Regions from separate parts of the Homo sapiens genome. Here regions 2, 3, 4, 5, 6 and 7 are each linked to region 1. Evidence: promoter capture Hi-C in 16 types of primary human blood cells and fetal thymus (Javierre and others, 2016). All regions are on one chromosome and are shown on one strand. The core of a region is centred on a gene start or on the middle of the fragment in contact, and the rest is flanking DNA. Distances in the headings are between cores, read along the strand shown. Region 1 holds the start of PRR16 (proline rich 16). Region 2 overlaps LOC105379144 (a long non-coding RNA gene). Region 3 overlaps LOC105379144 (a long non-coding RNA gene). Region 4 overlaps HSD17B4 (hydroxysteroid 17-beta dehydrogenase 4). Region 5 has its middle 200 kb from the start of FAM170A. Region 6 has its middle 120 kb from the start of FAM170A. Region 7 has its middle 110 kb from the start of FAM170A.

Region 1 (3,817 bases), core at 621-3,120:
TTTAGTGAATGAGATTCAGAGTAGCATGGACATCTTCTTATATTGTGGGAGGATTATTTTGTCACTGTGAGGGAAATCACAATTTCCTTTCCTCCTCTCCCATATCCTTGTCTAAAGTCACTTAACTTTGAGTTTGGCGGCTTTCTTACACACTTGCCTACTATTAAGAGTCAAAAATAATTCCAATCTAGAAGAATAGTACTTTCTCTTTTCCCCTACCATTAGCTTTTGCTAGTTTTGACAATTTTGGGGAGTCTGTAAACCTGATATAATTATTTTAATGTTATATTTTTTATAAAATAAAGAATTTGAGGAGAAAAAGGATGTTTTAAAAATCTAATTCTCCCTACCTCAGAGAACTCAAGCATATTACTTATTTCACACTTTTAATCATTTCTTCTCTTTTTCTTTTCTCCAGTTTGCATGCTGCAGACTTGTTCTTATAATCTCTTCTTAAGTCTTTCCAGCAGCATCTGCTTTTCACCTTTTCTCATTTCTTCCCCTGATTTTTCAATGCAGTTTTCAATGGTTTTCTTTTGACACCACTTTCAAATTTCAATTTTTTCTTCTGTTCTCTTTCTTCCTCTATATTCCACATATGACTTCCAAAGGTTTTGTAAAGATGAATTGTCCAGGATTAAGAGAGTGATTGATTAAGAGCCTACAGAACTGGGAAGAGGAGAGCTGCCAAGCTTTTCTTTATGTGTAGCACAGTGGAGCTACCCAGAGTGTGAGAAGCAAGAAACAGAGAGCCTTGCTAAGGCACGACGAAAAGGGGAAGCCTATTAAAAGAATGATCTGGAGGAGTGTGCAGTGAAGAAAATAAAGTAGAGCCAGCCTGCTGGGTCAGTAGCTAATAGCCCATGGGTTTACAACTAAGGAAGTTAAAATTCTAGCTAATGAGAATTGTAGACACCTACTGAGAGTGAACCGAAGGCTTCCTATTAACTTCCCTTCTTGGGTCTTTTTGACAGAACAGTCAGAAAGTTGTTTCCTATTTGTTTAGTAGCAAAAGAGTTGAAATGGAGGTTTAAAAAATGATGAAAGAGAAGTTGGAGGCAATCTCTTACTCAGCTCCTTCACGAGGTCCAAATACGATGTCTCCCCCACTCCACTCAAAATGTAAATCAGCATAGGTCACAAAAAGAGGAAGGACAGTTAAAAAAAAAAAAAAGAGTTGGGCCAAATAAGACATACAGCCAAGATGACTGAGACAATCAGAGAGGATTTGGGGTGTGGGGACTTCAAATTAATAAATCCGGTATTAGCTTTGTGGAATTAGCAGGATTAGGGTACCTCTTTCAAGAACACTGGTTGAATTTCATGGTTTCAATAGATGACCATTAGCTGTTATGTGCACCCCCCCCCCCCTTTTTTCTTGCAGAAGTTAAGAAGTCTGCTTAACTCGCAGGTCACCAAGAGATTGATTAAAGGCCTCTGGACATCATTTGGGTTTGGATAAATCTGTAGGGCCACTTTACAGACTGTCTCCAACTCCTGATCCCACTGTGGTTCTTTCTGAATTGATCCAGGTCCCTGCTAGCAAGTGAAGCAGAAAGAATCCAGGCTAGTTGTGAGATGACATACAGCAAGCAGGCTGAGATGATGGGGACATTTCAGAACCAAGAGGAGGGGGCGGGCAGGACACGGACTTGTCTCCCCCACCTTGATGCCAAGGTGGCATCTGGGAGATATCTCGAAGGGCAACGTCGAGGGGACTGCAAGCGTCAACCCTGGCGCGGCAGCACGGCGCCCCTCTCCGCGGGCGGGGAGCGAGCGCGTGTGCGCGAGAGCGCCGGGCGGCGGCGGGAGGAGGCGCAGGCGCGCTGCTCGCCCGTCTGCAGCCCCGAGCCGAGCGCCGCGTCTCGGGAGTTGATGGCAGCACCACTGTGCGGCCGCCCGGCCGAGCGCGGAGCGCAGCCACTCGCCGCTGCCCAGGGAGCGCCCAAGATGTGGGGGGACCGGGGCGGCAGCGGCCGTAGCAGCGCCAGGGACGGGGGCACGCAGCAGCCTCCGCTCGCCCGCCTGTCCTGACCTGCCTCGCTTGCCCCCAAAGAATGTCAGCCAAGTCCAAGGGGAACCCCTCCTCGTCCTGTCCAGCCGAGGGACCGCCGGCAGCCTCCAAAACCAAGGTGAAGGAACAGATCAAGATCATCGTGGAGGATTTGGAATTAGTCCTGGGCGACCTGAAGGACGTGGCCAAGGAACTTAAGGAGGTGAGAGGCGCAGGGGTGGGGAGGGAGTTCGGCACCCTTCGACCCCTCCGGGGTCCCCTTTCCGATTTTCAGCAGGGACAGCCAGATTTCCAAACTCCTGGGAAACTACAGAAAAGGCGCCTGCAGACGGACTTTCTTTGCTCCTGGAGTCCTGAGAGGAGTTGTTGTTGCACTTTTTAATTTTTTTTTTTAATCAGGAAGAAATCAACTAGTGTTTTAATCGATGGACCTGGGCTGGTGGGAGGGATGAACGCACGCGTGTCTCTGAATCTGTGTGTGTGACGACGGGGGAGAGGGTTAGCTGGGGGTGTGTCGGCAGAGGAAGTCGTGAGCAGCCCGGCTGGAGCGTGCAAGATGCTCCTCTCCTGCCCTATTGCTTCCCCAGAGTCCTTTGGCAAGTCCGCTGCCTATCTGTCAGCCTCCCCAAGTCAGGGCTGAAGAGGGGCCGGGTTCTGGGCCCTGGGCCAGATCAGGGAGGGCAGCCTGGAGGAAGCTTGGCTCAGACTACCCTCCCTGTCTCTCGAGCCTCGCTGTAGGGAAGGCGACCCGGGCTGCTGGCAGCCTTGGGGCTAAGGAGGGGGTCTGGGACTTTCTCACTTTCTCAGTTTCTGAAGCATCCCCTGCTCTCCTCCGAACGTCGTTACCAGTAACTCTGGGCCTTCCCGCCACCCTACCTCTGCTTCCTTCCTTCCACCCTGTCGCCACTTGGCATTGAACCCGAGAAGCAGGACGCGCAGGAGAGTGTATGTGTGGCCGGGGTCTTGCCATTGGCGTCCTGGCTCTCTGCAGCTGGGACTGCTTCGGTTCTTCCCCGCTTTTCCTATCCCACTTCGGTTCAGCCCTACTCCCGCCCGCCCCTAGCCCCAGGTGATCCAGATGGAAAGAAGCAGAGAAGGTGTCAGGGCTGAGGCTGCGTAACTCAGGCGGCGGCTCCGGGCGGGGGCGGGGGCCGGGCTGGGAGGGGTGGGGTCTCCCGAGCCAGGCTGGCTGCCGGCGGCGTCGCGGAGCTGGTAGCAGAGTCCCAGCGCGCCGCTCACTACTGAATGGGGTCCTGGTGCGGTTCTCGGTGAGGGAGTCCGCAGCTCCGCTGCGTGAGAGCTAAGACTAGAACTTCGAAGGTGGCGGTGGCTGCAGCGGGAAAAGGGGTGGGGCGTAGTCTAGGTCCAAAATTGTAATCCTGTTTCTGAAGCCAACGGGGAGGAGACTGAGGGTTGTTTGGATGACTGGCCTCTAGAGATTAACCTCCTGTATTCAATTTCCAAACCAAATTTCAAGAGCCCCCTCGTCTTCCTCCCCTTCCCCCGTTACCTCTATGAACTGAACTCTGCATTTGTTACCTAATGCAAGTCTGTTAAAATGGGCCATTCGTCACCAGGGTTAAGTTTGCCAGTGGTAAATGTCGTTCCTGTAGGTTACTCCACAGACAGAACATAATTAGTACTGAGGTCCTGAGAGTGGCTGTTAGTATACATAGATTCAGGGATAAAACTTGTTCGTGTTTTCAGGGTTTCTGTAGGATTATTGCTTCACAACTGGTTGACAGATGGTGGGGTTATGCATTGAAATTCAATTCTAAAAATGCTGTCCCTTTCTTTGTTATT
Region 2 (3,493 bases), core at 422-2,921, 540 kb before region 1:
TTCTTTCTCTTGCCTGATTGCTCTGGCTAGAACTTCCGAAACTAAGTTGAACAGGAGTAATGAAGAGTGGTCATCCTTGTCTGGTTCTGGTTCTCAAGAGGAATGTTTCAGCTTTTGGTTATTCAGTATGATGTTGGCTGTGGGTTTGTCATAGATGGTTCTTTTTATTTTGAGGTATGTTCCTTTGATGCTAGTTTGTTGAGGGTTTTTAAAATGAAGGGATGTTGAATTTTATCAAAAGGCTTTTCTGTGTCTGTTATAATGATCATGCTTTTAGTTTTGTTTATGTGATGAATCACATTCATTGATTTGCTTATACTGAACCAATATTGCATCCCAGAGATAAAGCCTACTTGATCACGGAAGATTAGCTTTTTGATGTGCTGGCGGATTTGGTTTACTAATATTTTGAGCATTTTCACATCTGTGTTCATCAGGAATATTGGCCTGAAGCGTTTTTTTTTTTCATTGTGTCTCTGCCAGATTTTGGTATCTAGATGATGCTGACCTCTTAGAATGAGTTATCGAGGGGTCCCTCCTCCTTGATCTTTTGGAATAGTTTCATTAGGACTGGTACCAGCTCTTCTTAATACATATGGTATAATGTGGCTGTGACTCCATCTGGTCCAGGGCTTTTTCTGGTTGGTAGGGTTTTTTTTTTTTATTACTGATCAAATTTCAGAACTCATTATTGGTCTGTTCAGGAATTCAATTTCTTCCTGGTTCAATCTTGGGAGGTTGTAGTTTTCAGGAAATTATCCATTTCTTCCAGGTTTTTTAGTTCATGTGTGTAGAGATGTTCATAATATTCTTTGAGGGTTTTTTGTATTTCAATGGGACTGGTGGTAAGGTCCCCTTTGTCATTTCTGATTGTGTTGATTTGAATCTTCTCTCATTTTTATTTGCTAGTTTATTTAGTGGTCTTTCAATCTTAGTTCTTCATTGATATTTTGTACAGTGTTTCTTTTCTTCATCTTGTGAGCTCAGTTCTGATTTTGGTTATTTCTTTTCTTCTGTTAGCTTTGGGGTTGGTTTGCTTTTGTTTTTCTTGTACCTATAGGTGTGATGTTAGGTTGTTAATTTGAGATCTTCCTAACTTTTTGATGTGGGCATTTACTGCTGTAACTTTCCTCTTAACACTGCTTCAGCTGTGTCTCAGAGATTCTGGAATGCTGCATCTTTGTTCTCATTAGTTTCAAAGAATTCCTTGATTTCTGTCTTAATTTTATTTTTTACCCAAAAGTCTTTCAGGAGCAGGTTGTTTAATTTGCATGTAATTGTATGGTTTTGAGAGATCTTCTTAGTATTCATTTCTATTTTTACTGTGCTTTGGTCTGAGAGTATGGTTGGTATGATTTCATTTTTTTAAAATTTGTTGAGAATTGCTTTATGGCTGAGGGTGTGGTCGATTTTAAAGTATGTGCCATGTGCACACGAGAAGAAGGTATATTCTGTTGTTTTTGGGTGGGGTTTTTGGTAGATGTTTGTTAGGTTCATTTGGTCAAGTGTCAAATTTAATTCCTGAATACCTTTGTTAGTTTTCTGTCTCAATGATCTAATACTGTCAGTGGGGTGTTAAAGTCTCCCACTATTACTGTGTGATTATGTAAGAATTTGTTTTATGTGCTTCAGTGTTGGATGCATATATATTTAGGATAGTTAAGTCTTGTTGAATTGAACCCTTTATTGTTATGTAATGTCCTTCTTTATCCTTTTTGATTATTGTTGCTTAAAAGTCTCTTTTGTCTGAAATAAAAATAGGAATCCCTGTTCTTTTTTGTTTTCCTTTTGATAGGTTTTTCTCCATCTCTTTACTTTGAAGCTATGGGTGTTATTGCATATGAGATGGGTCTTTTGAAGATAGCATGGAGTTGGGTCTTGCTTCTTTATCCAACTTGCCACTCTATACCTTTTAAGTGGGGTGTTTAGTCCATTTACATGCAAGTTTAATATTGATATGTGTGGAATGATCCTCTGTCATTGTATTATTAGCTGGTTGTTATGTAGACTTCATGGTGTAGTTGCTTTAAAGTGTCAATAGTTTATGTACGTAAGCGTGTTTTTGTGGTGCTGCTAATGTTCTTTCATTTCCATGTTTAGCACTCCCTTAAGGACCCCTTGTAAGGCAGGTCTGGTGGTAACAAATTCCCTTAGCATTTGCTTGTCTGAAAATGATTTTATTTCTGCTTTACTTATGAAGCTAAGTTTGGCTGGATAATTCTTGGTTGGAAGTTCTTTTCTTTAAAGATGCTAAATATAAGCCCCAATCTCTTCTGGCTTCTAGGCTTTCTGCTGAAATGTTCACTGTTAGCCTGATGTGGTTCTCTTTGTAGGTAACCTGCCCCTTCTCGCTAGTTGTCCTTAATATTTTTTCTTTAGCATTGACTTTGGAGAATCTTATGACTGTGTGTCTTGGATTTCGTTTTCTTGGATAGTGTCTCACAGGGTATCTCTGAATTTCCTTAATTTGACTGTCAACCTCTCTAGTGAAGTTGTGGAATGTTTCATGGACAATATTCTCAAATTTGTTTTCAAAGTTACTTGCTCTCTCTCTCCCTCTCATGTATGGATTCCAATGAGTTGTAGATTTGATCTCTACATAATCCCATATTTTTTGGAAGTTTTGTTCATTCTTTTTTCTTGATTTTTCTCTGACTTAGTTCAGATATCCAGTCTTCAAGCTCTGAGGTTCTTTTCTCCATTTGGTTTATTACACTGTTAATACTTCCAATTGTGTTATGAAATTCTTGTAGTGAGTTTTTCAGCTTGATCAGATCAGTTTGGCTCTTTCTTAATATGTCTATTTCATCTTTCAGCTCTTGTATCACTTTAGTTAATTTGTTAGATTTCTTGAAGTGGGTTTCAACTTTCTCCTGAATGTCTATGATCTTCTTTGCCATCCGGATTCTGAATTCTATGCATGTTATTCCAGCCATTTTAGTCTAGTTAAGAACCATTGCTAAGGAGCTAGTGCAGTTTTTGGCAATAAGACATTTTGAGTTGCCAGAGTTCTGATATCGGTTCTTTCTCGTCTGTGGGGGCTGATACTCCTTTAATCTTTGAAGTTGCTTTCCTTTGGATGGGGTTTTATTGCTTTTATATTCTTTAATGCCCTTGAGGATCTGACTGTCGGTTCAGTCAACTAGTTTAGTTTTGATAATTTCAGTGGACCAAGGCTCAGCTTGTTGCTCCTGAGTTGCCTGCTGTAATGCTGGGGGGCTGGGACCAGGCCCAGCGCTTTGTTCTCTGGCCCTCGAGGTTAAGCCGCTGCTTTGCTAGAGGGGCCAAGATGTAACTGGTCCACTGTCAACACTCTGATGGGGGTGCTGGAAAAAGTACTTTATCAGAGTGGTGGCAGTGGGGACCATGCTTGGGCACACATGACAGCAGCAGGAGGAAATGTTGTTTTTTAAATTTTTATTTCATTCATTTAAGAGAATGTTAAGGGGTCATAAATGAATTTATTAGCTATAGAAGCTTAATTTCACATTAT
Region 3 (4,044 bases), core at 1,196-3,695, 590 kb before region 1:
TCCAGGTGATTCTGATGTTCAGTAAAGTTTGGGAACTATTGATCTCAGATGGTTTGCTTGACTTTTGGATGATGGGCAGGGTCTAAATTCCTTTTAATATGCCTTCTAATGATAAAATCCACGATCATATGAGAATTCCTGCAACTGCCACTTCCAAAATAACCTCATTTATTCTTCCTGTATTTAAGTTTACATTAAGTTTAGGAGGAGAATCACGTAAAAATTGTTTCGTTTTCTTGATTTTGATTAGTTCAGTGATCCAACAAAGTTATTAGGAAGCAGAACATTTATTGGGCATCTTTACTGTAAATACAGATTAGATGTTAAATGAGTATTTCAGAGCTAGAGGCAAGGGTCTCCAGTGCCCCTTCTTATCTATACCCCATGTTCCTCTAGATAGTTGCAACTTTCAGACTATTTGAAATAGAAACAGTACAACTTTAAAGTCAAGAGACTTAGGCTGAGACAGCTACTTTCTAATTCCCCCGTAAAAACTTGACACCGCACCAGATTTCCAATAATTTTCTTTACGCTGATTCCTTGAAAAAGCAACTCTCCTGTGAATGTTAATGTGGTTACTTGTCTGTCTTATGATTGTTTTCCCGTGTATTGAAAAAAATCCAATTTAGTGCCAACCATTAATCATATCTTAGGCTATTTGTACCTGAACATGAAAGGTGTACATCTTAAGAAAATCCTTCATGATTACAGTGAAACACAGACAAAAAGCCATGGTGTTAATATGATCAAGGACTTTTTGACTATAAATTTTGAGATCAAAGTTATTGTATACGACCCTTCAGAAAGCTACATGGTCTCTGAGCACTCTAGCTAATGAACAATTCTACGGTGATATTATGCTGTGTGTGTTTAATAGCATCTAACTTCTTGTTACTTTGGCATATTATTAAAGGTTCCTAGAGACATGCCAACAGTGAAAATGCCACTTTATCATTCTGTATTTTTTCCTCCCTCTACCGTTAAAATAAATTATAAATATACATATAGCTTTTATGGTTATGATACTAACTCATCTTTTAAACAATTCTTCTGTTGTAATTTATAATAGCAAATTGTATGTTTGCAAACTCTGTTGCCTACCTTTGCTGCTAAGAGGAATTCAGATAATAAACTTTATAAATACAGCAGTGTCCTATTATCTTTAGGGGAGATGTTCCAAGACTCCCAGTGGATGTCTGAAATTGAAGATAATACCGAACCCAATTGCCCTCAGTCAGAACAGGATTCTGTTCATGTTTTCCGCTCACAAATTTAATGACTTTTTCATCGTAAATAAGCACTTATGCACTGTGGGCATTTTGCAGTTTGAAGTGCAACAGCAAAACTAGCACAGATTTTATTTTTCCTTTTCACAATTTCATGGATAGAAGGTTTGTTCTTATTGTACATCTTAGCAACCTTGGCATACGATTTTTCTTTTCTTTCCTTATTAAGTTGAGAACTTTCAGTTTTCACTTAAAGGAAACACCTTATGGCTTCTCTTTGGCATAGCCAAAATGCCAGCATCATTATTCTTACACTTTGGGGCCATTTTTGAGTGAAATAAGGGTTACTTGAATGGCAGCTTTGCAACATCGTGTCGATCTGATAACCACAATGGCTACTAAAGGGCAAAGAGCATCTACAGCATGGATCCGCTGGACAAAAGGATGCATGAAGCGGGACAGAGTGAAGTTTTATCATGCTACTCAGAACAGTATGCAATTTAAAACTTATGAATTATTTCTGGAATTTTCTGTTTAATATTTTCATACTGTGGTTGGCGGCAAGACCACTGTATAAGCAATTTTAGTATGTATTATTTCTGTGGTTATATATGAAAATAAAGCATGCTGTCTTTTATATTCAAAGGAGTCGTTTGTTTAGTTTAACTTAACTAAATTTGCAAAACGCTTTCTATATGTAGGTACTATGAGGACACCGGAAATACTAAGACAGTAAAACCTAGTTCTTGTAAATGGCCATTTTTCTCCCTGTGTTTTTCCTTGATCCTTCTCTGTGCATATCTACATCCCAATCTCCTCTTAATAGGAAGACAGTTATATTGGATTGGGGCCCACCCTGATGTCTTTATTTTAAGTTACCTTTTTTAAAGACCATATCTCCAAATACAGTTATATTCTTATGTACTGAGAGTCATAACTTCAACATGTGAACTTTTGAGCGGACATAATTCAGTTATAACATTCATAGTTCTATCACGTCTAAAGTCTTCTATTCTGATACACCAAACACTCACTGCCAACTTCTATCTCTTCAGTTCTATCACGAAACGTCATGAAGCTCTCCAATGTTGAACTGCTTGTTCTCCAGAGCCATCAATTCTTCATGGCTTTATATATTCTGTACCCACCTGACCTCCATAATGACTTTAACCACTAAAATGACAAGAGCTGTAACATTAAGTTCCAAAGTCTTTTCCAACTACCTACCCTGTACATTATTCACTGAGTCACAAATTGGCTTGAAGAAATCACCCAAATATAAAAGTTAGTGCTGCTGTCAATTCACAGCCTTAGTTGTAAATATCCAAATTCATTCTATCTCAGTAGGCAACTTTGCCTTTTTACATTATTTTTCCAAGAGATGGGGTCTTGCACTGTTGCCAAGGGTTGGTCTCAAACTCCTGTGCTCAAGTGATCCTCTCACCTCAGCCTCTTGAATTGCTGGGATTCCAGGCATGTGCCAATGTGCCTGTCTATCTATGCCTCTCTTTAAAATAGAAAATGGGTTGTTGAGTTCCTTAACTTCCTTTCTTTATATGCATATTTCCTTATGTTGCAGAACATTTATTTCTGTAAATAAAATTTATTCATTTATATTTACTCTTATCTCTTACCTCTAAATGCAAAAGAAGACTGTACACTTTACTTTAAAATTTTTTTATTCCCTTCCTATTCTTTCTTTAGCCTTTTCTTTATCAATTAATTACTCATTTAGCTTTTGTTTTCCTACTAATTCTTTTTTTATCAGTATAGAAAGATACCTGACTAGTATAGTCATGTATTGCTTAATGAAAGAGATCTGTTCTGGGAAAGGTATTGTTAGGTAATTTTGTCATTGTGTGAACATCATAGAATATACTTTCAAAAATCTAGATACTATAGCCTACTATACACCCAGGCTATATGGTATAACCTCTTGCTTCTAGGCTACAAACCTGTATAGCATGTTACTATATTGAATACTATAGGCAACTGTAACACAATGGTAAGTATTTGTGTATCTCAACATATCTAAACATAGAAAAGGTACAGTGGGAATATGAAATAAAAGATAAAAAATGGTACACCTACATAGAGCACTTACCATTACAGGTAGTTGGAAAGGCAATGAGCAGGTCAGGGGAGGGCTTTCCCCACACCCACTAGAAATGTCAGGTGCTGGTTTGGCAATTATCACATTGCCTCTCTAACAAGAGTAATTCGGCAGCCAAGGAAAGATAATCTCCTGATGGTCTACACTTGTTAACATTAAAAATGCTAATTGAAAGCAGACCTTAGGGAGAAGCAACTTCCTGGGCATGCCTGTTAAGAGACAAAAATGGTGAAGTATGATCTTCCCGGTCACACTCCACCGGAAAAGTGAAGAAAGCCTCAGAGAGGCATGCATATAAAACTCCCTGAACACACTGTGCTGTGCGTGCTCAATTTCCAAAGGTAAGGAGGGCACTGCGCTATGCAGAAAGCCCATCCTCAGGGAAGAATCATGGGAAAGAAGGGAGATACAAAGTGCTAGGATCAAGGTTAAAGGTGCTTTTTCTCTGCCCATTTTTTCTCTTGGACCTTCAGACGCCCACTTGGATCTCCTCGCAGGGTGCTTTCCTTTCTCTCCTGTTTAAAGACTTTTAAATAAACTTCCACTTCTTCTCTGAAACTTGCCTCAGACTCTTTTTCTTCTCTATGCCCCTCAGTCGAATTCTTTCTTTCTTTTTTTTTTTTTTTGAGATGGAGGCTTGCTCTGTTGCCCAGGCTAGAGTGCAGTGGTGTGATCTTGGCTCACTGCAACCTCCACCTCCCGGGT
Region 4 (3,920 bases), core at 1,334-3,833, 990 kb before region 1:
GCCTCGACCTCCCAAAGTGTTGGGATTACACGCATGAGCCACCGCGCCCGGCCCAACGTAATTGGTACTTTATACCCATTGGTTATCAACTCTCCATTTCCAGCATCTCACTAGTTCCTGGCAACCATCATTCTATTTTGTGATTCTATGAGTTTTGATATTTTAGATACCGCACATAAGTGGAATCATGCCAGTATTTGTCCTTTTGTGACTCACTTATTTCGTTTAACATAGTGTCTTCAGAGTTTATTCATATTATCACATATTGCAGTATTTTATTCTTTTTAAATGCAGAATTACGTTTCATTGCTTGTATATACCCCATTTTCTTTATTCATTCACCTATCCATGGACATTTAGGTTGTTTCCACATCTTAGCTATTGTGAATTGTGTTGCAGTGAACATTGGAGTGCTAATATCCTTTGTTATTTGAAGAGAATTTCAAGTCAGTTTTTCTTCTGATTTCAGTTCTTTTGGATAAAGATGTGGAAGTAGGATTGATCGATCTTATAGTAGTTTTGTTTTCCTGTGTATTTAATCTTAAAGCGATTTTCACATTTTTTCTTTTCTTTTGCTGAAAAGTGGATGAATCTTTTTTTTTTTTTTTTTTTTTTTACTTTTCTTCCCTGCTCCTTTTTTTTTTTTTTTTTTTTCCTGGAAAGGGTCTTGCTCTGTTGCCCAGGCTGGAGTGCAGTGGCATGATCATAGCTCACTGCAGCCTTGATTTCCCAGGTTCAAGCAATCCTCCCACCTCAGCCTCCCAAGTAGCTGGGACTACAGATACATGCCATAATGCCCAGCTAATTATTTTGGTTTTTAGTAGAGATGAAATCTTGCTATGTTGCCCAGGCTGGTGGTCTTAGACTCCTGAGCTCAGGTAGTCCTCCCACCTTAGCCTCTCAAAGTGGTGGAATTACGGGTATAAGCCACCATGCCCAGTCTTCTTTACTTTTTGAAAGAGGAAAAACACTGCACAGTTAAAAATTTCATGAGAACAACCTGTATTTAAATAGTTTTGCTGTTTCTTTATGTCTGTATTCAAAAATGAAGAGGAATGTTTTGAAAATGGCTGTGTTGTGTTTAGTAAGATGGGATAGGGTAGGAAGGAACTGGGCAGATGACTGAAGAGATGTGCTAGTAATTAGAATTTCATTTTCCACACACACACACACACATTTTGAAAGTCTAGAATAATTAATTGTTGTTTGCTTGTTTTTGCATTACAGTGAATGATTTGGGAGGGGACTTCAAAGGAGTTGGTAAAGGCTCCTTAGCTGCTGATAAGGTTGTTGAAGAAATAAGAAGGAGAGGTGGAAAAGCAGTGGCCAACTATGGTATGGTATTTGAGAGAACTATACTATTTATTTTCCTTCAACTAATGCTATTTGTCACATTAATAATCTTTGAGCAAATATCTCAGTATTCCAGTATAATTATGATTTTCTAAGTCTGCCAAAGTTTTCTGACTACATATTTTATATATGTGAGAATTGTTAAAACTTTTGATGTAGACTATTTCATGATTCTAAGCTTTGTTCTATTGTTTACTATTTTTATTAGTGAGCACATGATATAATTAGTAAATTATTGTAGATATGGATATGTTCTTCTGAGTTCTGTTGGGTGAATAGTATTTGTCGTGTACTCTGACCCACAGAATTTAGAAGTCCTTTGGAAGGGAGGTTGCCGAAATTTCATACAAATTTTCCTTTCCCTCAGATTCAGTGGAAGAAGGAGAGAAGGTTGTGAAGACAGCCCTGGATGCTTTTGGAAGAATAGGTGATGTTTCTTTGTGTTATGGCTCTTGTGGAGCAACTTCTACCTTCCTAATGAAATATTTTTAAGTTGACTTTCATTTACTAAACAGATACCTCTTTCCTCATAATCACATTTTAAAATTTGATTTATAAGTTAATTATTGTACTTATTTCATAAAGGGTTTAATTGAGGTGGCAATTTTATGGATATAGTGTTGAGTTTGTTTTTTTGCACCTTAAGTGCTTTAAAAAACTTACGAGCGTTTACTCAGTGCCCTTTTTAAAATAATTCAGTTAAACCTCAAAGATGTTTATAAGATTAAAAAATAAACCAATATTTTGGCAATAGAGTACCCAGTGGATTCTTTTGGATAATTATAATAATTTGGATTAAAATAATCCAATATCTTGCAAATTACTTAAGATGATTTCTCTATAATAAAAATCTTAATTTTTAAGAAGTATTTCAAATAAATTGTTGAGTTTGTTATTTCTGTAGCTAATCTTCCCAGTTTAGTCCCACACACTCTTAATAAAAGATTATTTAACTACTAGATGGAGACATCACGGAACATAAGCCCAACATGTTTACAATCTGAAAAACATTACTTATTCTTAATTGAATGTGCTCTCCCTTTTTTGTTTGGTCTATTACACTTATTTTTCTAATTTTGTTTGATTGAACTCATAAGAACCATGTTCACATATCGTCTGACAGGGATAGAAACCACAAAAATGTGAAATCATAGGGTGAAAATAGCCACAAGAGGGTTGAACCTTAAAAAATAATTATTTTCTTTCATAGTGAGAAAATAATTATGTATCAAGATAAGGCATCAGTTTGTAACTCTAATGGTTTTCTTTTTGGACTTTTTACTTTTGAGTGGCAAGGGAAAAATGTAACTTTAACTTGCTAAGTGAATTTTGAGGTTAAGTGTAGAATGGCTTATGGTTCTGATTCCTTAGAACCTAAGAGTTGTAAAATGGCTAATTCTATAATTAAGTGGATAGAATTTTGATAGAGAGGTGGGAAAATTTATAGATGTTAGTTTGAGAGGAAGGTGCTTGATATAATGTGATACTTAGGCTTTTGTGAGTCAACTTTTTTTGATATAGGTATAGACTTTTGTTTTGAAAGCACTCTTTACCTATTATATTTACTTTTTCATGGTTAAAAAACGCCAGTTTTGAGAGAAATGTGAGTTGTAAGCAAATGCAAACTAATATGCTTGCTTTTAGATGTAACTTGTATCTTTTTATATTGTAGATGTTGTGGTCAACAATGCTGGGTGAGTATTTCTTTTTCATTTTTAGTGATGTGTGTATAATTTTTTTAAAAAGTATATACTTTCCTCCTTTTACCCTATACAACATTGATTTTTTAGAATTCTGAGGGATCGTTCCTTTGCTAGGATAAGTGATGAAGACTGGGGTAAGTTGTTTTTAGTATTTCTCTGGGGAACATACTTATCCATTTAGCCTTTTTAGTATTTGATAAATTTATACATTTAAGGAAAAACCTGCTTCTATCTACTTTTGCTGCTAATATAAATGATGAGTAAACTGTATACTGAAGACAATGAATAGTTAGAAGTAGCCTCTTTTAGAAAACATTTAATACTTTTAAAAAATGTTAAATCATTTGTTTAGAAGATATCTAAAAGGATTTTATTTCTTCAGGTTTCCCTCTCCCCTTTTTTTCTCCTTAAGAGGTTGTCAGCATTTTCTAGAGGTATTAACTCTTAACAGCCTTTAACGTGCTTATCCAGCTGTGTGAATCTTTTTCAAGAACAGGAGCAGGATATTTAAGGGAGTCTAGTGCACTAAAAATGATGGAGATTTTAGAACAGGTTAGGACAAAACCTGGATATAATTTTGAAGCTTCTAGTAAATAGGAAAGTTTTCCATTCTTTCTGAATTGGAAAGATTGAGTTTAGATAATGAACAAATCACAGTTAAGAATTTTTTTTTTCTTTTGCTCCTCTTTGTGCTTACTTTCATTGGCCATCAGAACTAAAATGAACAGTGGTGGCTGAGACAGAGGGAAGCATGGCAACTGAGGTGAAACAATTGTATCATTGTTTATAGAGTGTGTTTTGGGGGAATAGTGCCTGACTGTCTTTTGGAAGAAGAGTTAGTGTCTTTGATTTAGAATTAAGCTA
Region 5 (3,582 bases), core at 662-3,161, 630 kb before region 1:
TTCGTGAGTGGGATAATTGTGCTGCTTTTATTGTATTTTTTTAAGCCAGGTTTATAGATGGTTTGTAAAGACAGCTAAGTCCATGTGGGCTACAAAAAACTAGTATGAATTTTATGCCTGGCATACAAATGCAGTGCTTCATCGGTTGCCCCAAATTCCATTCCTATTTATGTTATTCTCAACTACATTCAGCAACAAGGGAGGGAACTGCGGGGGAGCTAACTGCTTAGAATCTCATGAATTGTGCACTCTTCCATCCAACTTCATGGACTCACATGGGTTCTGAAAATAATAATTATGTTAACTCTGACAGTGGTTTTTTTATTTCAGAGACTCAGATTCTGGTTTTACCCATAGAAGTTGGAAGAACAAATAAAAAAGAATAGATGCTCTTAGTACATAGTGGATAGTGCAAAACGTCAACAAAATTATTGTGAATCCAAAGCTTAAAATGGCAATTAAAATAGATTGTGCCTCCTACACTCTGTTTCTGGAATAGTTTTATTTGGAATTTAAGAGGAATGTCTTGATTTAAAAATATGCTTTGGTTTTATTATTAGAATAAGAATTTTGGGAAGAATGAAAGAAAAATAAAGTAACAGACAAATTCCAATGGAGTAAGAAAGACTTTTTCTTAGGAGAAATGTTAAAATCTTAGAGGTTTGACTAGCTAGATATGACAAATTAAAGAAAATAAGCCCCAGTTTATCTACTTTTTAAAGTGGGACTGTAAAAGAGGGGATTGTTTTAGTTCTTCTAAAATTAGGGAGGGTAAATGGAGCATAGAAAAACATGGTTATAGCATAGTAGCAGGGTCAAAGAGAGTGTAGTGTAATTGTTATGTTGAGCAATCCCAGATCTAACAAGTTTTTTTTTTTTTTTTAAAAAGAACTTTTGAGTAACCTTTATTCTAAACCTAATAATGAGAAGTTTTAGGGACAGACTGACAATGTCAGGCTTTGTTTTGTTCTGTTTTCTCTTTCTATTATGTGGATCTAGAAGAAAAATAAAAGCCATTGATATAACTGACTCTACTTGAGGCTAATCCACTTTTCAATTTCATTGTAAAAGAGAAAGATTTTTAGAAACTTTACTTAGTCTATAAATATACTTGTCTATAGACACCATTATTATAGACACAGTTATAGACAGATGTTTCATATTTTGGTAGAATTTGTTTTTTTAGAGTCACCTATGAAATTGTGGGCTTAACAGACTCTTGAAAATGTTCCTCTTAAAGTTGTAGATAAGGAGTCTTTAATGAGAACTAACCACACGGCTATAGAATATCTGGACAGATGTGAAAGAGAATGATTGAAATAGCAACCTACATTAAAAGAAGTACTGATGCAAGGTGATACACCTGTTGTAAGTGGGTGGGAAGATATTGTCTCTCTCTCAAGGAGAAGAAATATAAAATAAGGGCTTTAAGGGAAGTGATAGGAGCTACTATATATTGAAAAAGAAAGAAAATAATACATCTAATTCAGCCTGTCTCTGACGAGACAGTGATTGAGATGATTCAACCCAGGAGGTGAAGGTTGAAAATATTTTTTTAAACAGTGGATGTTTTGGGCAGCACCAGAACTCACTCACTATAATGATCTCAAGATAGGGTACCCTACCAGACAAAACCTGGAGAAAATTATGTCATTGAAAACAGACAACTGAGCTTAAAAACAACGAGAAAGAGAAAGAGAAGCAGCTACTCAGGTCTTACGGATAGTTATTCCTAAGGTAGAGAAGGAAAGTAATCCATTTAAGAAGCAAGGTAAACTATTGTGAACCTACTTTGAATAAGAGAATAGCAGACAGAAATAAAGCATTAGAGACCTTTCCTGTTGCAGAAAACTATTAAGCAAAAAGAGATGTTGCTCAAAGCCTAGAACATTAGAAAGCTGAGGAAAAGAAGGGCCTGCAGAGGGTGATTCTCCAGCAGAGACCAAGACTGGGGAGAGGGGAATCTTCCCTAGCAGGCAAGTCTCATGCTCTAAGACATTCCAGAGCAAGCAGCAATAGTCCCTGTGAAACAGGCCTGCATCCTGGACAGATCTCACCCTCAACTGCTATCCTGGAATGGGGGCAGAAAATTAGGCTCAAAGGGAAAATGAAATTAACAAGTTTTAAGTATGCTGCATAGGAAAGAAAGAAACTTCAATAAGACCCGCTGACTTGGGGCCATGACTACTGCAAATTTCAAAACTTTGTCAGGAGTTTTTCCCACTCTCTGATTGAAGAGAGAGAATGCAAAAATGAACTCCTTTCCCCTTGATATTTGTTAAGCATAATTAATCTTATGGCTGACTTCACAATTCACTGATTTTGGACCCTGAACAAGTGACACTGACCAACTGGGAGTCTAGAGTAGCAGAAATTGTTTCTCTGAATTGACTCTCCTTTCATTAGATAACATTGAGCCTTTTATGGTCTTTGGGGGCAGTACATATTGGTTCCTAGTTTCTGGAGATCCTTTTCTAAAAAAATTGGAGATATTCACTTTGGAGCTGCAATTAAGTTGTTTTAAAACTAGGATTCTAATAATTTTCTGTGTTGTGTTAACTCTTTGGACTTTCTTAGTAGAGGAGCCCATGGGGAAAAGAATTTAATTTCTGATGTCTTGTACTATATATATATATATATATATATATATATATATATATATATATATATATATTTCTGAATTTAAAGCCAGGTGTCTTAACATAGAGGCTTTAATTTCTTCCTGAGAGCTTCATAAGGGAGTATATTTATATTCCCATTTGGTAATTTTTATGTTGTTGATGCTATTATTGGAGAATAATTATGCCTCTATTTGACTTCATCGTGTAACCTCTGGTGAATTATGATGGAGAGTGAGGCTGGGCACAAATTAGAATGAGAAACAGAATAGGGAGTAAAAATAGAACTTCGTATGAGGGTAGAAGTAGAACTTTGGAATAAGTTTACTTAACGTATGATTCTTTGGACACAGTGGAGCATTGGTTGGTATTTGCAGAGAAGCCTTCATAAACAGGGTTGTTCTGAAGCTCATCTCTGTCCCTGGGGATGAACTGAACCCATCATTAGCCATTTGCTTAGCTGTTAAACCAAATATGTGAAGAGAATGGAAACCAGAGGAATATGTGTACATGTGTGGGAATCTTATTTACTACTCCTCATATTTCCACAAGTAGAAAATAATATATATTCAATCTCCAAGAAGGAAAATGGGCTAAAATCCTTCTAGACTTCTCTCTACTGACTTTACTCCTAGATAAAATTCAAATGATGACTTTTGGGATTGATACATTGGGGAAAAGGTACTGAGCATGAATGGTTTTGATCTTTCTGGGTTTCCCTTTCTTTGGAGTCAACTTGACTGAAGCACACACTAGAGGGAAGCTTACCAGGGCAGATTCTGTCTCTGCAGCAGAGCAGTCAGCAGTCTTGGACGGGGTTAAATTCAGATCAAAGTGAAATGTATTAGGAGACCCATTTGGCCACTGATCCAAGCCATATTCTTCAGTTTAATGTTATCACTAATACAGTTGAATTTTTATGTTCATTTCCCTGACTTCCTATTCTGTATTTTTACTCTGGGAG
Region 6 (3,851 bases), core at 485-2,984, 710 kb before region 1:
CTAATTTTTTTGTCAGAATAATGAAATATTGTTAGAAATTCTTCATTTTGTCCAGCCTACCAGTTGATAGAGCTGTGAGAATTGGTTCTTAGATTGAGAGATGGTAGAGTTTATGCCCCTCTTATGTTGATGAATTCAATTATGCTGCTGTCAACTTCTCAGTTACTGGTTTTTTTACCTCAGCCATAATATAGGTCATGTCTACACAGATAAACAAGTTTGAGAGATCGATCAGTCACCACAGCAATTAAGTAAAATAATTTAAAGCTGGAACTAGTTTGGAATTTTGGCCTGATGTATCCAGCAATTCAACAGATACTTAACTGGTTTGTTTATGTGGATACAACCATAGCAGCAGGCACTTTTTCTGCATGATCCTGTGCTACTAGTGACTTCAATAACTAAGATAAATGGGCCCAAAGAAGAATGAACAATGAAGAACTTTAAAACTGCTTTTAAGAATCAGGGATCTTAGCAAGATGGTGGATAGGAGGCAGGACCAGCTTGCAGCTCCAGCTCGGACAGACACGTAAACACTCATATTGTGAACTTTTGCTACAGAACTGCTGCAGGAATATACTAGGAAAGCTGAGAGAATCCACAGACCCTCTGAAGGAAGTGGATTGCTTCTGCAGGACCCAAGAAACAGCCCAAATACTGTGAGTGCCCAAACTGTGACAGTGGGAAAAGAGGATTGTCTGCCCCCAAACACACCCTCACTGGGGAACCTGGAGGTATAGATCATGGAAAATGGATTTGACCTTACCTGGATCTGAGTCAGTTTAGAGAGCTGAGAGAACTACAGGGGTGTAAGAAGCGGCGGGAAAAGCCCTGTGGTCTCTCTGGGTCCCCAGAGAAGCCATTTCTGACTTCTCTCACAGGGGTCCTTGAGGAGGGCTGCCAGAGTAACTGGGAAGAGACCACAGGGAGAAGGAAACCTCCAGCTAAACTTGGTAACAATTCCAACCAAAGGCGAAGTCTCCTGGCCAGAATTCGGGGGAGGGTGTGAATTCAATGCAGACTCAACAGGCTGGGAGGCGTGAAAGCCCTGCTTGCTTTCTCAGATGGAAAGCTGGTAGCCTGGGGCAAGTTCTCAGCCATACCCACTACTTGGAAACAAACTCAGGGGGAGCACAGTGGGAGTGAGACCAGCCTTTTGGGATGTATAGGAGCTGGGTGAGGCTTGTAACTGCTGGCTTTCCCCCACTTCCCTGACAACCTGCATGACACAGCAGAGGTAGCCATAATCCTCCTGGGAACATAACTCCATTGACCTGGAAACCACACTCCCATTCCCCACAGCAGCCATGGCCCCACCCCTTGGGCAGGAGTTGCCCAAGGAGAGTCTGAGCTCAGACAAGCCTAACCCTGCCCGCACTTGATGGTTCTTCCCTACCCACTCTGGTAGCTGAAGACAAAGAGCATAATCTGTTGGGAGTTCGAGGGCGCTGCCCACTTCCTGATTCTCCATATTCTACCATAGCTGATACTCTCTTGAAAGTACCACCTCCTGGCAGGAGGCCAACCAGCACAAAAATAGTGTATTAAACAACCAAAACTAAGGACACTCACAGAGTCCATTTCACTCCTTTTCCACCTCCACTGGAACAGTTGCTGGTATCCGTGGCCGAGAGACCTGAAGATGATTCACATCACAGGACTCTGCAGACAACTCCCAGTACCAGCCCAGAGCCTGGTAGCCCTGCTGGGTGGCTAGATGCAGAAAAGAAATAACAATTACTACAGTTCAGCTCTCAGGGAGTCACATCCTAGGAAAAGGGGGAGAGTACTACATCAAGGGAGCACCCCATGGTGAACAGCAGAACAAAAGAATGTAAACAGCAGGCTTGAGCCCCAGATCTCCCCTCAGACATAGCTTACCCCAATAAGAAGGAACCAGAAAAACAATTCTGGTAACATAACAAAACAAGGCTCTTTAGCACCCCCCACCATCAAAATCACACTAGCTCACCAGCAATGGATCCAAACCAAGAAGAAATCCTTGATTTAACCTGAAAAAGAATTCAGAAAGTCAATTATTAAGCTAATCAAGGAGGTACCAGAGAAAGGAGAAGTACAATTTAAGGAAATAAAAAAAAATGATAGAAGATATGAGGGTAGAAATCTTCAGTGAAATAGATGGCATAAATGAAAAACAGTCACAACTTCAGGAAATAAAGGACACACTTAGAGAAACGCAAAATGTTCTGGAAAGTCTCAGCAATAGAATCGAACAAGCAGAAGAAAGAACTTCAGAGCTCAAAGACAAGGTTTTTGATTTAACCCAATCCAACAAAGACAAAGAAAAAAGAACTTTAAAAAGTGAACAAAGCCCCGCAGAAGTTCGGGATTATGTTAAACAACCAAACCTAAGAATAATTGGCATTCTTGAGGAAGAAGAGAAATCTAAAAGTTGGGGAAACATATTTGGGACTTAATTAAACTAAAGACCTTTTGCATGGTGAAAGGAACAGTCAGTAGAGTAAACAGACAACCCAACGAGTGGGAGAAAATCTTCACAATCTGTACATCCAGCAAAGGACTAATATCCAGAATCTACAAGGAACTCAAGCAAATTATCAGGAAAAAAACAAACAATCCCATAAAAATAGACATGAATAGACATGAATAGACAATTCTCCAAGGAAGATATACAATGGCCAACAAACATATGAAAAAATGTTCAACATCACTAATGATCAGGGAAATGCATATCAAATCCACAATGTGATACCACCTTACTCCTGCAAGAATGGCCATAATAAAAAAAAATATAGATGTTGGCATGGGTATGGTAAACAGGAACACTTTTACACTGCTGGTGGGAACTAGTACTGAGGGAAGAGAGAGACCCTCTCATATTGTTTTATATTGTTTCATACTCAGTACCTGTTTTTTTTAAAAAAAAAAAAAACCAAGGACGTAAAACCCAAGACAGGCAGCTGGGCGCCAGGCCCGAAACCAGGTCTGGGCCTGCCTGGCCTAAACCCAGTAGTTAAAAATCAACTCATAACTTAGAAACCAATGTTATTCATAGATTCCAGACATTGTATAGAAGAACATTGTGAAACTCCCTGCCCTGTTCTGTTTCTCTCTGACCACCGGTGCATGCTGCCCCATCACGTACCGCATGCTTGCTCAAATCAATCACGACCCTTTCATGTGAAATCTTTAGTGTTGTGAGCACTTAAAAGGGACAGAAACTGTGCATTTGGGGAGCTTGGATTTTAAGGCAGTAGCTTGCTGATGCTCCCAGCTGAATAAAGCCCTTCCTTCTACAATTCAGTGTCTGAGAGGTTTTGTCTGCGGCTCGTCCTGCTACAGTACAAACACTGTGGAAAACAGTATGGAGATTCCTTGAAGAACTAAAAGTAGAACTACCATTTGACTCAGCAATCTCACTACTGGGTATGTACCCAGAGGAAAATAAGCCATTATACAAAAAACATACTTGCACACACATGTTTATAGCAGCACAATTTGCAATTGCAAAAATGTGGAACCAGCCCAAATGCCCATCAGTCAACGAGTGGATAAAGAAACTGTGGTATGTATATATCATGGAATACTACTCAGCCATAAAAGGAATGAATTAATGGCATTCACAGCAACTTGGATTATATTGGAGACTTAATCTAAGTGAAGTAACTCAGGAGTGGAAAGCTAAACATTGTATGGTCTCACTCATAAGTGGAAGCTAAGCTATGAGGACGCAAAGGCATAAGAATGACACAATGGACTTTGGAGACTTGGGGAAAAGATGGGAGGGGGTTAGGCATAAAAGACTACAAGTAGGGTGCAATGTATACTGCTCGGTGGTGGTTGCACCTAAATCTCACAAATCACCGCTA
Region 7 (3,766 bases), core at 138-2,637, 730 kb before region 1:
AAATTATTATTATTATTTTGTTTTATTTTTAGCAGCTCCTTGCTTTCTGGCAGAAAATGCTTCAGGTTCATCTTGTGTGCATTTTCTGCTCCAGTCTTGGAATCTGCCATTTCACCTGTGAGTCCTTTTAATAGAGAATGACATTCATTTAAGGATCTAAGTATGAGGTATATTCATTGCTTCTGGGGTGTAATTGCTTCTGGACTTCTCAGCCCTTTCAGTGGACAGAGCTGGGGGAATAAATTAAGTGAGTTCCCTTGAAGCCAAATATTAAGTCTCATTTTTGGACCTGGCTTCTTTTAGGCTTTTTAAGCTTGTCTTAGGCTTGATGACACTTTTTTTTCATTTTGTCACACAGACCCCCAATATGGCTGATAGCATTTTCTTGCATATTTCTACTTCCTCATCCATCAGCATTTCATTGCCCGGGGCTTTCTCAGCCTTTCAGGATCCAGTGAAAGTTTCAAATTCTATCTTGAGAGTAGATCCTCAAAGACTCACATAGTTTCTCTGACAGGTTTCTTAAAGTCTGGACACAAACTGCCTATTCCCTTTGCATTTGTTTATTCTCTAAGAGCACATACATGTTGGTGGTGTTCACCTGAAAAATAGATAATTTTTTAACTGTGAACTTAACAGAGGAAGGAACATAATAAGTCCTGATCTGTGAAGTTTGTCATACTTAGGAAGAGAAGGGAGTCTAGAGTAGAAGAGTAAGTCATTGAATGCTCTTTCCTAATTAAGTGACCCAGAAATGCCATTATTCCCAATTCCCATTCTGGCATTGGAGAAGGGAAGAGGACTGAATGTGACTGAGTTGGGAAAATTGCACAGTGGCAAATAGCTGAGCTGGGAAACAACACACTTTGTAGTCTTTCCCCAGTTTATTTAGCTAAGCTGTCTAGAATTAAGACCCATGACCTCGGGGTATTGTAATAAGTTGGAGCTATAAACCAAACTATCTTTCTGTCCTCAATCTTACAGGCACCTATTTGGACCCATTTAAGCAAGAGCATCAAATACAACTCAGGGAAACTAGAACCTGGAGAGCACTACAACTATTTGGGGCCACAAATTAAGAGCCTATTATTATGGATGACAAGATAAAATGGGCTGCCTCAGGAGGTAAACAATTCTCTAGACGTGCTTCGTGCTTCGAGTAGACTGAATGGGCACGTGAGGGTTGTAAATGTGAGTTGGGCATTGGTTGAATGTGGGTAAAATTAGATGGCTAGGTGGCTTTTAAGGTTCTTTGCAGCTCTGAGATACTGTAGGGCTACTTCTCCATGTTGTATGTATACACAGATAATTTGCACCCTCACAGTGCACTTATTTTCTTTCTTAAATGAAAATAGATGGAAGAAACTGATTGTTTCTCCCACTCAACCCTGGATGCAGTTGAACCCTGCAGAGCATCATTTTTTTCCTGGTGGGGTATGATCTCTTTTATCAGGAAAAAAATTATGAGTACTTGATAATAGCATCAAAAGATGTACAGTTATCAAACTGTTTATACCCAAAGAGAGTTTATACCCAAAAAGAGTTTAAAATGAATTTTATTTTTAAAATTTATAAATTATAATTATGATTTGATGAGAGTAAAGATCAGGGGTTTGTTCAACAGGAACCAAAAACCAGTTTCAAGTAAGGAGAGAGATATATATATATATATATATATATATATATATATATATATATATATATATATATATATATCCCTTGGAACCCATTTCCACAGTATTGCCATGACTACATAAGGCAATGATTTTTTTTAATAGTTATTTATTATGAAAGACAAAGTTTTATCTTAGGAGGTTAGCCACACATATCAAATGCAGTTTATAAGATTCCACAGTACATTTCTAAATCATTGTATAACACATCAGAATTTCTACAGCAGCATGATTTCCTTAAGGACATAGATCCCGTAATTTTAGTAGGTACTCAATAAATAAATTTGATGTATTTTTATTTGTAAAAGAAAACATAAGGTTTGAAAATAGAGAAGCAATTCTTGTTTCTCCGAACTTCAGATGAGATGGCAGAGAATGGATTATTTCTGTAGAAATAAAGCTCCTAAGCCCTCATCAAGCCTTCATGGTTGGCAATGACAGGTATAACTTCTCCCAGGTTCCGGAGGCAGGTGTGTAGCTGCACATGACAGGAGAGCTTTTTCTCAGACAAATGCAGGAATACCAGAGATTCTTGTCAGTTTTTGAAAATTAATTCCTTTATTTGGAAAGACAGAACCACATCAGTTTAGCCATTTCGTGGAACTTGCAGGAGGCCTAGGTGAAGCTGCTCTTCTTTTTTGGTCTCAGAGATACACAATATAGCTCTCTAAAATACTTGGCTTCCTGCTAAGGCAGATTATAGTCAATAGTCCAGGAGGCATTGATGTAGAGGAAATCCCTTATATTTAATCTGCAAAGCTGAAGTTGGAATGTGATGATATTCAAGGGAAAGCTTCAGGTGAAAATGCGTGTCCTCTAGAAAAAGAAAATTACAATTATCCTCTGCACAATTAAAGGTAGTTTCTGTCATCACTACAAGCTACTACAAACTTGTGCTATTGAGCAAGGACTCTATAAAGACCCCAAATGATCATATGGAACTTGAAAATGTACACTTGCATGTGATTTGATCATAAATTAAAAAGGAAATGATGCATTAATGCTTTTTTTTTGTTTTTTGAGACAGAGTCTCACTCTGTTGCCTAGGCCGGAGTGCAGTCATGTGATCTTGGCTCACTGCAACCTCTGCCTCCTGGGTTCAAGCGATTCTTGTGCCTCAGCCTCCTGAGTAGCTGGGATTACAGGCATGCACCACCATGCCCAGCTAATTTTTGTATTTTTAGTAGAGACAGGGTTTTGCCATATTACCCAGGCTGGTCTCGAACTCCTGATCTTAGGTGATCACCCGCCTTGGCCTTCCAAAATGCTGGGATTACAGGTGTGCCACCGTGCCCAGCCAATACTTGGCTTTTTTTTTTTGTTTTAACCAAGAGAAATGTTAAGAAGTTGGTTTTAGAACAAGCCTTCTTTCTATAGGAATTCTGCTCATTGGAGACAGTGGAACAATGGATTTGTGAATGTATTAAAAGGTTGCAATGGATATATGCTATTTTTGCTTGCTGAGCATTTATCCTCACTTGATGAGAAAAAGTACATGAGTTTTCCTTTGGGGTAACAAATTCCATGGTCTCTGGCCAAGTGTCCAGATGGGGCTCTATAGCATGAAGAATGTGACAGTGATTCCCAAGGATATCATATTTGTTTCAGGAAAAGGGATCTGACTGAAGTGGGCCAATCAAAGTCAATTATTTGAGTCTTAAGGATGCTTTCTACAAGCGATGCTCTTTATTTTCTGCTGGACTTGAACATGGAAGGCATGGACTGACTATCTTACCTCTTCATAGAGCCTGAGAATAAGCCATTATATCAGAGAACAAGGCAGAGAGAAAGAAAGAGCCTGGTTTTGCTGATATAGTTTAAACCCTGGGCTCAAACCATCTATATATATATGGTTTTAAAATTCGTATAAATAAATATATATTCTCATATATATATTCATTTATGTGAATTTTTAATTTCTGTGATCAATACATCCTTTATTTGCCAAAATAGCATGAATAAGGTACATATATTATACAACAAAAGGTATTTAACTAATATGTTGATTGAATTAAAGGTGGCTCCTATTCTATGTCCTCTTTAAGACAATGTAGTATTTCTATGAAAATATAAAAGAAAAATTGCTCATCAGG

The links. The method cuts DNA at HindIII sites, captures the fragments that hold promoters and counts their contacts. A CHiCAGO score of 5 or more calls a contact.
Region 2: a fragment that was not itself captured here is called in contact with the fragment with the promoter of PRR16 in region 1 in 1 of 17 cell types (neutrophils); the score reaches 6.3 in neutrophils.
Region 3: a fragment that was not itself captured here is called in contact with the fragment with the promoter of PRR16 in region 1 in 1 of 17 cell types (neutrophils); the score reaches 5.2 in neutrophils.
Region 4: a contact is called between a fragment that was not itself captured here and the fragment with the promoter of PRR16 in region 1, in 3 of 17 cell types (megakaryocytes, endothelial precursors and monocytes). The highest score is 8.2, in megakaryocytes.
Region 5: a contact is called between a fragment that was not itself captured here and the fragment with the promoter of PRR16 in region 1, in 1 of 17 cell types (neutrophils). The highest score is 5.5, in neutrophils.
Region 6: a fragment that was not itself captured here is called in contact with the fragment with the promoter of PRR16 in region 1 in 1 of 17 cell types (M2 macrophages); the score reaches 5.1 in M2 macrophages.
Region 7: a fragment that was not itself captured here is called in contact with the fragment with the promoter of PRR16 in region 1 in 1 of 17 cell types (neutrophils); the score reaches 5.6 in neutrophils.

The regions. Positions count from the first base shown.
Region 1 is chr5:120,462,430-120,466,246 of GRCh38, forward strand. PRR16 (proline rich 16) reads left to right here and starts at 1,871. Exons shown (of 2, transcript NM_001300783.2): 1 at 1,871-2,216. The coding sequence starts at 2,058. RefSeq lists a silencer at 1,790-1,839 and an enhancer at 2,245-2,746. The HindIII fragment of the contact is 2,017 bases long and covers 691-2,707 here.
Region 2 is chr5:119,920,652-119,924,144 of GRCh38, forward strand. The region is part of intron 1 of LOC105379144 (a long non-coding RNA gene); the gene reads left to right. Among named protein-coding and RNA genes, the nearest start is that of FAM170A, 290 kb to the left of the region's middle. The HindIII fragment of the contact is 3,607 bases long and covers 1-3,475 here.
Region 3 is chr5:119,870,255-119,874,298 of GRCh38, forward strand. All of the region lies in intron 1 of LOC105379144 (a long non-coding RNA gene), which reads left to right. Among named protein-coding and RNA genes, the nearest start is that of FAM170A, 240 kb to the left of the region's middle. The HindIII fragment of the contact is 7,465 bases long and covers 1-4,044 here.
Region 4 is chr5:119,472,681-119,476,600 of GRCh38, forward strand. HSD17B4 (hydroxysteroid 17-beta dehydrogenase 4) reads left to right here. Exons shown (of 24, transcript NM_000414.4): 3 at 1,228-1,335; 4 at 1,721-1,780; 5 at 3,026-3,047; 6 at 3,144-3,190. Among named protein-coding and RNA genes, the nearest start is that of HSD17B4, 22 kb to the left of the region's middle. The HindIII fragment of the contact is 2,108 bases long and covers 1,530-3,637 here.
Region 5 is chr5:119,828,580-119,832,161 of GRCh38, forward strand. No RefSeq gene overlaps it. Among named protein-coding and RNA genes, the nearest start is that of FAM170A, 200 kb to the left of the region's middle. The HindIII fragment of the contact is 2,936 bases long and covers 444-3,379 here.
Region 6 is chr5:119,752,051-119,755,901 of GRCh38, forward strand. No RefSeq gene overlaps it. Among named protein-coding and RNA genes, the nearest start is that of FAM170A, 120 kb to the left of the region's middle. The HindIII fragment of the contact is 7,171 bases long and covers 1-3,851 here.
Region 7 is chr5:119,734,851-119,738,616 of GRCh38, forward strand. No RefSeq gene overlaps it. Among named protein-coding and RNA genes, the nearest start is that of FAM170A, 110 kb to the left of the region's middle. The HindIII fragment of the contact is 2,153 bases long and covers 312-2,464 here.